Regions from separate parts of the Homo sapiens genome. Here regions 2 and 3 are each linked to region 1. The links are contacts of gene promoters, found by promoter capture Hi-C in blood cells and fetal thymus (Javierre and others, 2016). All regions are on one chromosome and are shown on one strand. The core of a region is centred on a gene start or on the middle of the fragment in contact, and the rest is flanking DNA. Distances in the headings are between cores, read along the strand shown.

Region 1 (3,739 bases), core at 628-3,127:
CAATAAACCCATTACTACCTTTAAAACCACAAATAGCGTGAAGGGAGAGTAAACTTCTTAAACACTATCAAAAAGTAAGTTTGCACTTCACAGTTATCCTACAGTTTAACAGCAAAGACGCAAAATTCAAGAGTCCTCTTTATTATAACTATACATTTTACGACACAAAAAAATAGCCTGCTTCCATTATTTAAGTCAAACCTTCCAGACAATTAACTACACATAATGAAATGCTAAATTCACAGCCTGCCTGAACCAAAATATTAGTGACACAAATCTTTACGACCACAAAATTTTTCAACATATAAAATGCAACTGAATAAGGTAATGTGAAATAAGTTTTCAACAATGTTCTCGAAGAAACTTCAATCAAACAATAAAAACAGCTTCAATTCCCCCCCAAAATATATACACCTACTGTGTACCCAAAAAAGTTATAATTTTAAGAAATTTTTTGAAGCTTCAATCAAATAAAAATAAAGAACATCACAATCATGAATAAAATCTAAAACTCCACTTTGATGTCTGTAGCAGTGTGCAATCTGCATTCAAATGAATCAATCCGAAATGTCATATACACTTAATATTGTGAAACTAAAATAAATGAAATCTAATGAGGTCAAAAGCTGTTGGAAGATTTCATCTTCAAATAGCATATCATCAACTGTATGGCAACATGTGAACGACTTTTACTGTTCTAGCAAGTTGCATATATTCCACAACCTCACAGAAATCTTGTCATCAAAAGTAGGTAACAAGCTAAAAAAAACCTCAAATACATAATGGGAATAAACCGAGTTGGAGATTTTTTTTTAATCCGTAGGTACAGATACTACAACCTTCAATTAATTCACCAAAATCCTAACATAGTTGTTACTTTAATTACCAAAATATGTCAAGTCCCACCCCATATCCCTGAGTCCCCAGAGAACAGTTTATATACATAGACTCTAAATCTTTTTATTTTGGTCACGGACCCCCATTAAATTTTTGAGCATTTGAAATGCCCCCGAAAATCGCTCGTACATCATATTTTACATACACGGGCAGATAATTCATTAAGTTTCTTGGGGAGAGAGAAAGGTGAGGGGGAAGCGTCCATGGTCACTAAGTCCAGACCCCTGGTGTCGAGAAAGCGTTAACGTATCTCACAGCACAAGTCGGGAGACCTCGGCCAAGTCCCGCGGCGGCCCTGGGACCCCGCGTGGGACCATGGCTTGCGACCAGGTCGCCGCCCAGACGTGTACCGACGCGTGCACCCGCCGTCGGCCGCTCGCCCCACCTCGCCGGTAAACAGCAACTCCCCCGGCAGGAGGACGCCCGCCCCGCGCGCCGCCTCCGCCTCCCCCAGCGCCGCGCACCATTTTCTGAGAGGAAGTGTCGGGAGGCCGAGCTGGGCTCCCCGGACTCGGGGCGCGGAGGGCGGACCTCGGCACCGCGGCCGGACCGGGCTTTCCTCTGCTCCCGGGTGTGTCGAGTAAGGCTAGGAAGCAGCGGACGTGTCCGGGGCGCCGCGTGGGGAAAGGAGAGCCTGCGGCGGACGGCAACTCCGCGATTCCGGGATCCCCACCGAGACGCCCGGAAGCCCCGCCGTCGGGCTTGGCCGGGGCCGCTCCTCCGGCCGCCGGCGCCGCGCACTGCTCCCCAGCCCTTACGCGTCCCGCGGAGAGCCGGGTGGAAGCGGCGCCAAGGCAACCCGGTGCGGCCGCCGCGCCGCCTAGTACTTACCCATCCATGGCCCAGATGGAGGCGCGCACAGAGCAGGGACTGACGGGCTAACCGCGAGCAGAGGAAGCAGGCGGCGGCAGCAGGGCGGTTCCGGGGACAAGCGAGCTTTGGCTCTGCGGAGCCCCGGCCGGTCCGAGGTGGAAGGAGAGTGGGAACAGGGGCGGGGACCGGGCACGCTCCCGCCACCGCCGCGCCCCCGCCTTCCCCACCCCGCGAGCGCGTCCCCGCCTAGCCCGACCCCGCCCCCTCACCGTCCCCGCCCTCCCTCGGGGCCCGCCCCTGCGCTCGCGCCCACCCTCGCCCCGCTGGCAGCCGGCCTCCGGCTCAGCTCTGGGGCGCCCTCTTCCCGCGGTCGCTGTAAGACCCCGCCTCTCGGCCCCTCGGCCCGGCGCGCGCGCGCGCCCCCAGCCTCCCTCCTGCGTTCGCGGGAGCGCGCGCCTTGTGCTTCCCGCTCCGCCGCGCACCCCGCCCGCCCTCCCGCGGCCCCGCGGGCCTTCCGGCTTCGCAGACCGGGCCTGCCAGGTTTGAATGCCTCCCTCTGCCGGCAGGAAAAGCTATGGGGACCTGACTCCCAAGAGTAGGAAGGAATGTCCCACAAGGACCCCAGAAACGAGGTGGAATTGCCCCGGGTGCGCGAGGCTGTAGATGACACGTCCAGGGACCAGCCTCTGGCAGCCCGGCGCTGGAGTCGACCGCTGGGACCGACACCAGCCCCATAGGTGTGGCTGGGACGATGAATGAGGTGAAAGAGGCTGCCCGGACTGGAATTTGTATACAATTTAAGTATCTGAGTGCATTTCGACCTAACCGTCTAGTATTGAATTTATATGAAAAATTCATTGTACAAACATGGAATGGCTATATTCCCAGCATTTTTTAAAAGTTTACTCATTATTCCCTTTTTTCAGATGAAAATACATATACAAAGAGAGTGATTTGCTCACAGTTTCACAACCAGGAAACGTTTGCACCAGAGCCCTTCCCTCTGGTCTGAGCAAAAAGTATATATATAATATAACGAGTGACAACACGCTTGCTTTTTTCCCTTTTTAGTGAGAAATTGAGTACTTTTTCAACTCACAGATCACCAAAATGTAACCCCCTAAACTGTTAAGCCAAATTCTTAACCTACTGAGTAAAAAAGAGCGGGGCTCCTCCCCGTGGCTTCGTCATTTGAAAAGCAACTAACAAGAACCTCAAACATCTATCCTTGCTAATTTCCTGCTTTCAGATCAGTAGGTGCTGCTAAAAAGATCTAAACTGTGGACTCATTCATCATTCAGTCAGTATTAACCTACTATGTGCCGGGCACTGCATGAATACACAAGAAAATCAGGTTCCAGCCGTCACTGTTGAATGGATTCTTCAGTCCGTTTATGTATATTTTTGACATACAACTTTTCAAATAGGTAGAGTAATTCGGTGAGGTAATTCTTAAAGTCCTGTATCTAACCTCAGTCCCCTTCCAAAATGTCAAATACATTTTGTTTTGTATATTAAATCTAAATATTAAGTTGCATTTGTAAACATTGCCAGATGGAAATGTAGAATATCAACAAGATAAGTAGCTGATGCAGTCTTTCTATCACTGTATTTGGGATATATTCTGTTGATGAAATTTCCTTAACCCTTTTTTTAGCTACACAAGTAATATCAGCATAAATGCTCATTTTGGAAAATTCAAGCACTATAAAATATTGAAAAGTTATCATTAATATTTTTCTTCCCAAACCACCCCCTGCCCATGACTACCACTGTAACAATTCTGCGTGCATCCTTCTGGACCTTACTTTTTTTTGTTGTTTGTTTTTTTGTTTTTTTGTTTTTTTGTTTTGAGACGGAGTCTTGCTCTGTCTCCCAGGCTGGAGTGCAGTGGCACAATCTGAGCTCACTGCAACCTCTGCCTCCCGAGTTCAAGTGATTCTCCTGCCTCAGCCTCCTGAGTAGCTGCGATTACAGGCGCCCGCCACCACGCCTGGCTAGTTTTTGTGTTTTTAGTAGAGACAGGGTT
Region 2 (3,739 bases), core at 905-3,404, 200 kb before region 1:
AGCAGAAGCAAGTGCTAAAAACTGAAGAAAATCACATTCGAGTCAGTTTTCATCTTTACCCAACAATAACAGAAATAAGTCACTAGCATGCCTTAGAATCCAGTCAGAAGGCTAACACATCACCTGGAAATTAGTGGAATGTTGTAAGGGCCTAAACAGTCCAGGCAGATTAATACCAGAGTCTGCACAATGCTTACGTTCCAAATCAGATAATTCAGCTTGATACGTATACTTACTTCATTTGTTTCATCTGTGAAAGTGTTCTCTCCCCTACTAAATGGTAAGCTCTTTCTGGGCTGTGCTTATACCCTGTATTTTTAAATATCCCCTGCAGTCCTTTGGATTATAAACATTATTTTAAACATTAATCTTTGTGATGGTCTAAGGAACCTGCGACAAAGTTTCATGTATCTTGCAGCATGTCTACATACAACCATGAATTTGACTGTTGAGGTTGGCCCCTCATTCCATGATCCTTTGGGCACTAAATTACACATATCACTCATAGTGGAGGTTGGAATCTAATGTCTCAATATCTAGCAAGTTGAACTTAGAAAATGTTATACAGCAGAAAGAACAAGGCTGGGCGCAGTAGCTCACTCCTGTAATCCTAGTACTTTGGAAGGCCAAGGCATGAGGATCACTTGAGCCCAGCAGTTTAAGACCAGCCTGGGCAACATGTTAAGACACTGTTTCTACAAAAATAAAAAACAAATTGTTTTAGTTAGCCAGGCATGTAGTCCCAGCTACTCGGGAGACTCAGGCAGGAAGATCCCTTAAGCCCAAGAATTTGAGGCTGCAGTGAGCCATGACTGCACCACCACACTCCACCCTGGGCAACCTCATGTCTGAAAAAAAGAAAAACAAAGCCAGAGGCATTACATTACCAGACTTCAAACTATACTACAAAGCTACAGCAACCAAAACAGCATGGTACTGGTACATAGGCCAATAGGCCAATGGAACAGAATAGAGAACCCAGAAATGAAGCCACACACCTGATCAGTCACCTTATCTTCTGCAAAGAAGTAAACAATAACAAGCAAAGGGGAAAGGACTCCCTATACATAAATGGTGCTGGGATAGCTGGCTAGCCATATGCAGAAGAATGAAACTGGACCCCTGCCATTTACCGTACATAAAAATTAATTCAAGATAGATTAAAGACTTGAATATAAGACCACAAACTGTAAGAATGCTGGAAGAAAAACTGCAAAACACCATTCTGGACATCAGCCTTGGGAAATAGTTTTTTATTAAGCCCTCAATAGCAATTGCAACAAAAACAAAAGTGACAAGTGAGACCTAATTAAACTAAGGAGCCTCTGTACAGCAAAAGAAACTATCAACAAAGGAAACTGATAGCCTACAGAATGGGATAAAATATTTACAACCTATGCATCTGACAAAGGTCTAATATCCAGAATCTACAAGGAACTTAAACAATTCAACAAGCAAACAACAAATAACTCCATTAAAAAGTGGGCAAAAGACATGAACAGACATGTCTCAAAAGAAGACACACAAGCAATCAAGAAACATATGAAAAAATGCTCCACAACACTAATCAGAGAAATGCAAATCAAAACCACAATGAGATTCCATCTCACACCAGTCAGAATGGCTATTATTAAAAAGACAAAAAATAACAGATGCTGGTAAGGCTACAGAGAAAAGGGAATGCTTATATGCTGTCGGTGGGAATGTAAATTAGTTCAGCCACTGTGGAAAGTAATTTGGAGATTTCTCAAAGAGCTTAAAACAGAACTACCATTCAATCCAGCAGTCCCATTACTGGTATATATCCAAAAGAAAATAAATCATTCAATCAAAAGGACACATGCACTTATATGTTCATCGCTGCACTATTCACAATAGCAAAGACATGGAATCAACCTAGATGCCCATCAGTGGTGGATTGGATAAAGAAAATGTGATACATGTACACCATGGAATACTACACAACCATAAAAAATAAAATCATGTCCTTTGCAGCAACATGGATGCAGCTAGAGGCCACTTCTACTATCCTAAGCATATTAATGCAGGAACAGAAAATTCTAATATCCTAAGCATATTAACACATGAACGGATAATCAAATACCACACGTTCTCACATATAAGTGGGAGCTAAATATTGGGTACTCATGGACATAAAGATGAGAACGACAGACATAGAGGACAAATAGAGGGAGGAGGGAGGAAGGGGGTTGAAACACTAACTGTTGGGTACCATGCTCACTACATAGGTGACAGGATCATTCATATCCCAAATCTCAGCATTATGCAATATACCATTGTAACAAACTTGCACATGTGCCCCCTGAATCTAAAATAAAAGTTGAAATTATTTAAAAAAAAAAAAAATGTGGCCAGGCACGGTGGCTCACCCCTGTAATCCCAGCATTTTGGGAGTCCAAGGCAGGAGGATCACCTGAGGCCAGGAATTAGAGACCAGCTGGCCAATGTGATGAAATCCCATCTGTACTAAAAATACAAAAATTAGCCAGGTGTGAGGCAGGCGCCTGTAATCCCAGCTACTCGGGAGGCTGAGGCAGGAGAATCGCTTGAACCCAAGAGGCAGAGGTTGCAGTGAGTCAAGTTTGTGCCATTGCACTCCAGCCTGGGCAACAAGAGCAAACTGTCTCAAAAAAAAAAAAGAAAAGAAAATGTTATTGCAAGCATAAAAGAAAAATGGGAGGGTTATAGTTTGCCATGAAGCACATTCTCAAGCGTAGTTTATTAACCGCTCTAATGAGCTCATTAGTACCCAAAAGTCTACTTGCTCTTAAGGCGATAGAAAGAAAAACAGATTACTTTTTGATGCATTTTGTATTCTAAATTCTTCCATGAACTTTATTTAGCCTTGACTAACAATATATTTTCTTCAGATCGTATTCATACAGAAAGCTCACTTGGAGGAAAAAGAACATTTTCCTTTTCATATAACACTTATCATCAATAAATAGTGTCTAATATGGAAACAACTGGAATCTGAACACTTCAGAAACTGCAGAGGAGGTGATAGGGTGTGTAAAAGCATGAATGTTAAGGGAAAAAAAGGGCTTAGCAAGATCTCTTGTAAGGATCTTCCATTTGCAGAAGTGACAATAATGTTTGTTGATGCTTTGAGCTGCATATGAATATTTCTTTTTATCAAAAGATAACATTAAAACTCTTCATTCTAATGTTCTAGTTGTAAATAGAATGTCTGAATGGAAAATAAATAAATAAGGTAAAGTAAAAACTGAAGAACTTTAGACCTTCTCATTTTATAGTAAGAAGTTTCAGAAAGACCTTATGTTTTTGATGAGGAGACCTGCCACTCCTCACTAGAAAATGGCCCACTTGCTCATGACCGTGACATTGAGCCACACCTTTTCTGCACTAGGCACAGGGCCAAGGGCTTTATTCATTATCCGATTAAATCTTCACAATAGCTCTAAGGGATGAACACCATTTTATTCCCTTCCACAAAAGGAAACTGGAGTTTAGAGAGGTTCAGAAGTGGTTGCACAACTAGTTAGTGGCTCAGATAAAACTTACACGGGTCTTTCTGAGCCAAAAGCTCATGCATCGTCCCCACTATTGGCAGCCTTATAACCAATGTCATCACTCATTCTGCACACTCAAATGACTTCAACCATTTACAAATATGGAGACATATTTTAATGGCATTTACTTGGCAAAAGTGTAACCCAACAGAGCTGTTGCATGCAACGGGTAAGTCAATGCAGTT
Region 3 (3,739 bases), core at 743-3,242, 150 kb before region 1:
CAGCCTATACCACTTCATCCCCACTGTGGCCCCTTGCAAAATAAATAAACTTAAGTATATATGTATATACATTTTTTATTGATAATGTCAGGAAAATTTGTCCAAAACTTGGAAATGGGCAAAAGAGATTACTGGGTATCCTTTCAGTGGGGTGCTGGGTGCACCGTCGCTGGACTTCCTATTGACTAGGCTATTTTGCAGCACTAGAGGGCTAGAAGTTAACTTGCCGAAAACTGATGATAATGTAAAAGATTTATGTCCATAGCAGTGAAAATGAATGTTTTCCAAGAGAAATATAAGTGATCAGTCCTTTCTGCCAGAAAATAAATAAGTTAAACCCACTAATTTCATTTTGTCCTATATGATACTAACTAGTTAACCAGTTTGGCACCTATTAGCAAATTCATGTGATCATTCCTGATGTTGGATTTTCCTTTGAACCTTAACATCTTGCTAGTTCTCCTTTGAGATCAACAACTTACTGAGTCCTCCATTAATCAATTGAATAGAATCTTAGATATGTTTTCATCTTATAGTTGCATAAGTCATGTTTTCAACTTTTTGAAAATTATATTTCAGGACAATCCATCTTACTCTATATTCCACATTAGATTGCTTGACTTTCATCAATTCTTTTCATTGGCTCATTTTTAAATTTCAAATACATATTTTTGGTTAAAACAATACTTCTTACTCAATGGTGAGTTCATTGGATCACATAATGAAAAATTATCTCCTCATCCAACAGTATTTGTCACAAGAATTAAAACAGAATCTTGAACCAGTGTTAAGTTTGGAGGAACAGTGGGATTATTGCTGACAAAGTATTTGACTTAAGAAAAATGTTCTTTCAAGAGAGCATGGTTAATATACCAGCATTTTCTAAAAAAGAACTTGAAAGAAGCTTTCTTCTCCTTCTCCCTCTCCTCCATTTCCTCCTCATTCTTCTTCTTCTTTCTTTGAGACAGGAGGATCTCACTGTGTCACCCAGGGTGGAGTTCAGTGGTGCAATCATGGCTCACTGCAGCCTTGACCTCCCAAGCTCAAGCGATCCCTCCACCTCAACCTCCCAAGTAGCTGGGACTACAAGCACATGCCACCATGTCCAGCTAATTTTTTAAAAAAAATGTAGAGACAGGGTCTTGCTGTGTTGCCCAGGCTAGTCTTGAACTATTGGCCTCAAGGGATCCTCCCGCTTCAGCCTCCCAAAGTTCTGGGATTGCAGTTGTGAGCCACTATGCCTGGCTGAGACTTAGTGTTTAGTGGGTATCGACTTTCAGTTTTGCAAGATGAAAAAAGTTCTGTGGATGGATAGTGGTGGTGATTGCACAACAATGTGAATGGACCTAACACTGAACTGTACACTTAAAAATGTTTGTTTGTTTGTTTGTTTTTGAGACAGAGTCTCACTCTTGTTGCCCAAGCTGGAGTCCAATGGCATTATCTCGGCTCACTGCAACCTCTGCCTCCCGAGTTCAAGCGATTCTCCTGCCTCAGCCTCCCAAGTAGCTGGGATTCCAGGCACATGCCACCACGCCTAGCTAATTTTGTACTTTTAGTAGAGACGGGGATTCACCATGTTGGTCAGGCTGTTCTCAAACTCCTGACCTCAAATGATCCACCCACCTCGGCCTCCCAAAGTCCTGGGATTATAGGCATAAGCCACCACACCCAGCCTTAAAAATGTTTAAAATTGGCTGGACGCAGTGGCTCACACCTGTAATCCCAGCACTTTGGGAGGCCGAGGCAGGTGGATCACGGCGTCAGGAGATCGAGACCATCCTGGCTAACACGGTGAAACCCCGTCTCTACTAAAAATATAAAAAAGTAGCTAGGCGTGGTGGCAGGCGCCTGTAGTCCCAGCTACTCTGGGGCTGAGGCAGGAGAATGGCGAGAACCCGGGAGGCAGAGGTTGCAGTGAGCCGAGATCGCGCCACTGCACTCCAGCCTGGGTGACAGAGCAAGACTCCATCTCAAAAAAAAAAAAAAAAAAAAGTTTAAAATCGTTTTTAAAAATTCAATGACAAAAAACGTTTATGCCCATTTTTATTTTTATTTTATCAAATAGGCAAATATTAAGGACTTTCCAAATTAGTTTTGGTTCTGGCAAATCTATATGGGATCAGGTTTACAAGAAAGATATCTTGGAAAGCCCCATTTTTCCCAATATTCCTGAGACATAAGTGAATGGGATTTCGGGAGAGCTCTGAGAGGACTCTGGAGAGCCATGGGTATGGGAAGGCAGAGGGCAGGCAAAAAATTTCATTCTGAACACTGGTTCAGTATCTCTAGGGAGATTTTCCCCCAAGCTGCTCTTCTCAGTGTCGGATTCCAGTGTGAAGAGGTTTGGGGTTTGTCCAGTGGGTTCCCATCTGGCTACAAGGCCAGAAGGAGAATCGAGGAGGGAGATTGGATACTAAATATCCTGGGACTCTCCTGGAAAAAAATCCATTCTTGCTTACCACACTCCTGACCATAAATGATTACAGAGACTGCTTTGGGACAGCTCCTGGCAGGCTTGCAAATTGTTATTTTTGTTTTTAATTTAATTTATTTATTTAGAGACAGAGTCTTGCTCTGTCGCCCAGGCTGGAATGCAGTGGCGTGATCACAGCTCACTGCAACTTTCAACTTCTGGGCAAAAGCAATCCTCCCTCCCCAGCCTCCCATAAATTGTAAATAAATTGTTTATATGTGGGTTTTTTAGGAATGGCTTGAATATCTAATTGTAATGAGTTTAATATACTCTGGGGTTGCACTTACTGCCTGAAGTTTGCATTAACAGAAATAATTTAAATATTTGAAGCCTTTGAAGTATATTGGCTGAAAACTTGTGTGTTTGAAACAAAGTAACAGTCCCTCTGTAACAGTCTGCTCCACCCCCACCTCATCTAACCCTGGCTGACTCGACATCTGTGAAAACCCCAAGGCCACCTTCAAAGAAGCCACATTACCCCTCCCAGAATGGAGTCATCATCTCAAGCAGATTTGTAAAGGCTGATAAGAAGGACCTGTCCCTCTGGAGAAATGCCCTTCTGATGAAGTCTCTAACTCAAACAAAGGCCAACTTCTCATTTTTTGAAGCTTAATGACTCTCAGATACTTTGCTGCTATTGGAGAAACAGTAGGATTACTCTGCCTTCTCCAGCATACCTCTCCCTCCCTTTAGACACACACATACATCAAACACCCTACCTGGAGTTAGTGTGTAGACCTTGGGCAACAAGTGCACTATTGTCTGCTGCACGTGGCTGTGCTACAACCAGTGTGTAATTTACCCAAAACGCTAGTATTCTCAGAAAAGCAAAACAAGCATGGGTGGAAAGGGACAGCTCAGCTTAGGGGACAAGTCCTGGACTCCCTATTTTTACAATAGTGCTCTCTCTCCTCACTGTAATGGACTCAAGAGACCCTGTGATCCCCCCAGCAGAAGCTGGGGCAGCAGCAAGATTTAGATTTGGACTTGGATTTGGGAGCAAACTTCAGACACTGCAACAGACAAGTTCAAGGAGCAGCAGGCTTAGTATTCACCTATCCTCCCCCGACCTCAGGTGGTGGAGACAACACCAAGTGAGACAGGCTGTGTCACCCAGTCTCTGTCTCTGTCACACACACACACACACACACACACACACACACACACAGCATCACCTTCCTCACTTGCAAAAGCCTCAGCTGTTGGTGTTTTTATTCCACAAACCCTGAAAGGAAGCCTGCTGACAGCCCATTTCCGGACCCA

Evidence for each region. Contacts are between HindIII fragments. The CHiCAGO score rates a contact against its expected background, and 5 or more counts as called.
Region 2: a fragment that was not itself captured here is called in contact with the fragment with the promoter of PTBP3 in region 1 in 1 of 17 cell types (megakaryocytes); the score reaches 8.3 in megakaryocytes.
Region 3: a contact is called between a fragment that was not itself captured here and the fragment with the promoter of PTBP3 in region 1, in 5 of 17 cell types (megakaryocytes, fetal thymus, erythroblasts and 2 more). The highest score is 19.3, in megakaryocytes.

Annotation. Positions count from the first base shown.
Region 1 is chr9:112,331,742-112,335,480 of GRCh38, forward strand. It overlaps PTBP3 (polypyrimidine tract binding protein 3), which reads right to left and starts at 1,878. Exons shown (of 14, transcript NM_001163788.4): 1 at 1,729-1,878. RefSeq lists silencers at 1,243-1,732, 1,883-2,202 and an enhancer at 1,952-2,922. The HindIII fragment of the contact is 11,957 bases long and covers 459-3,739 here.
Region 2 is chr9:112,132,416-112,136,154 of GRCh38, forward strand. All of the region lies in intron 5 of SUSD1 (sushi domain containing 1), which reads right to left. Among named protein-coding and RNA genes, the nearest start is that of SUSD1, 41 kb to the right of the region's middle. The HindIII fragment of the contact is 4,334 bases long and covers 1-3,739 here.
Region 3 is chr9:112,177,551-112,181,289 of GRCh38, forward strand. No RefSeq gene overlaps it. Among named protein-coding and RNA genes, the nearest start is that of SUSD1, 4.1 kb to the left of the region's middle. RefSeq lists an enhancer at 3,499-3,648. The HindIII fragment of the contact is 2,180 bases long and covers 903-3,082 here.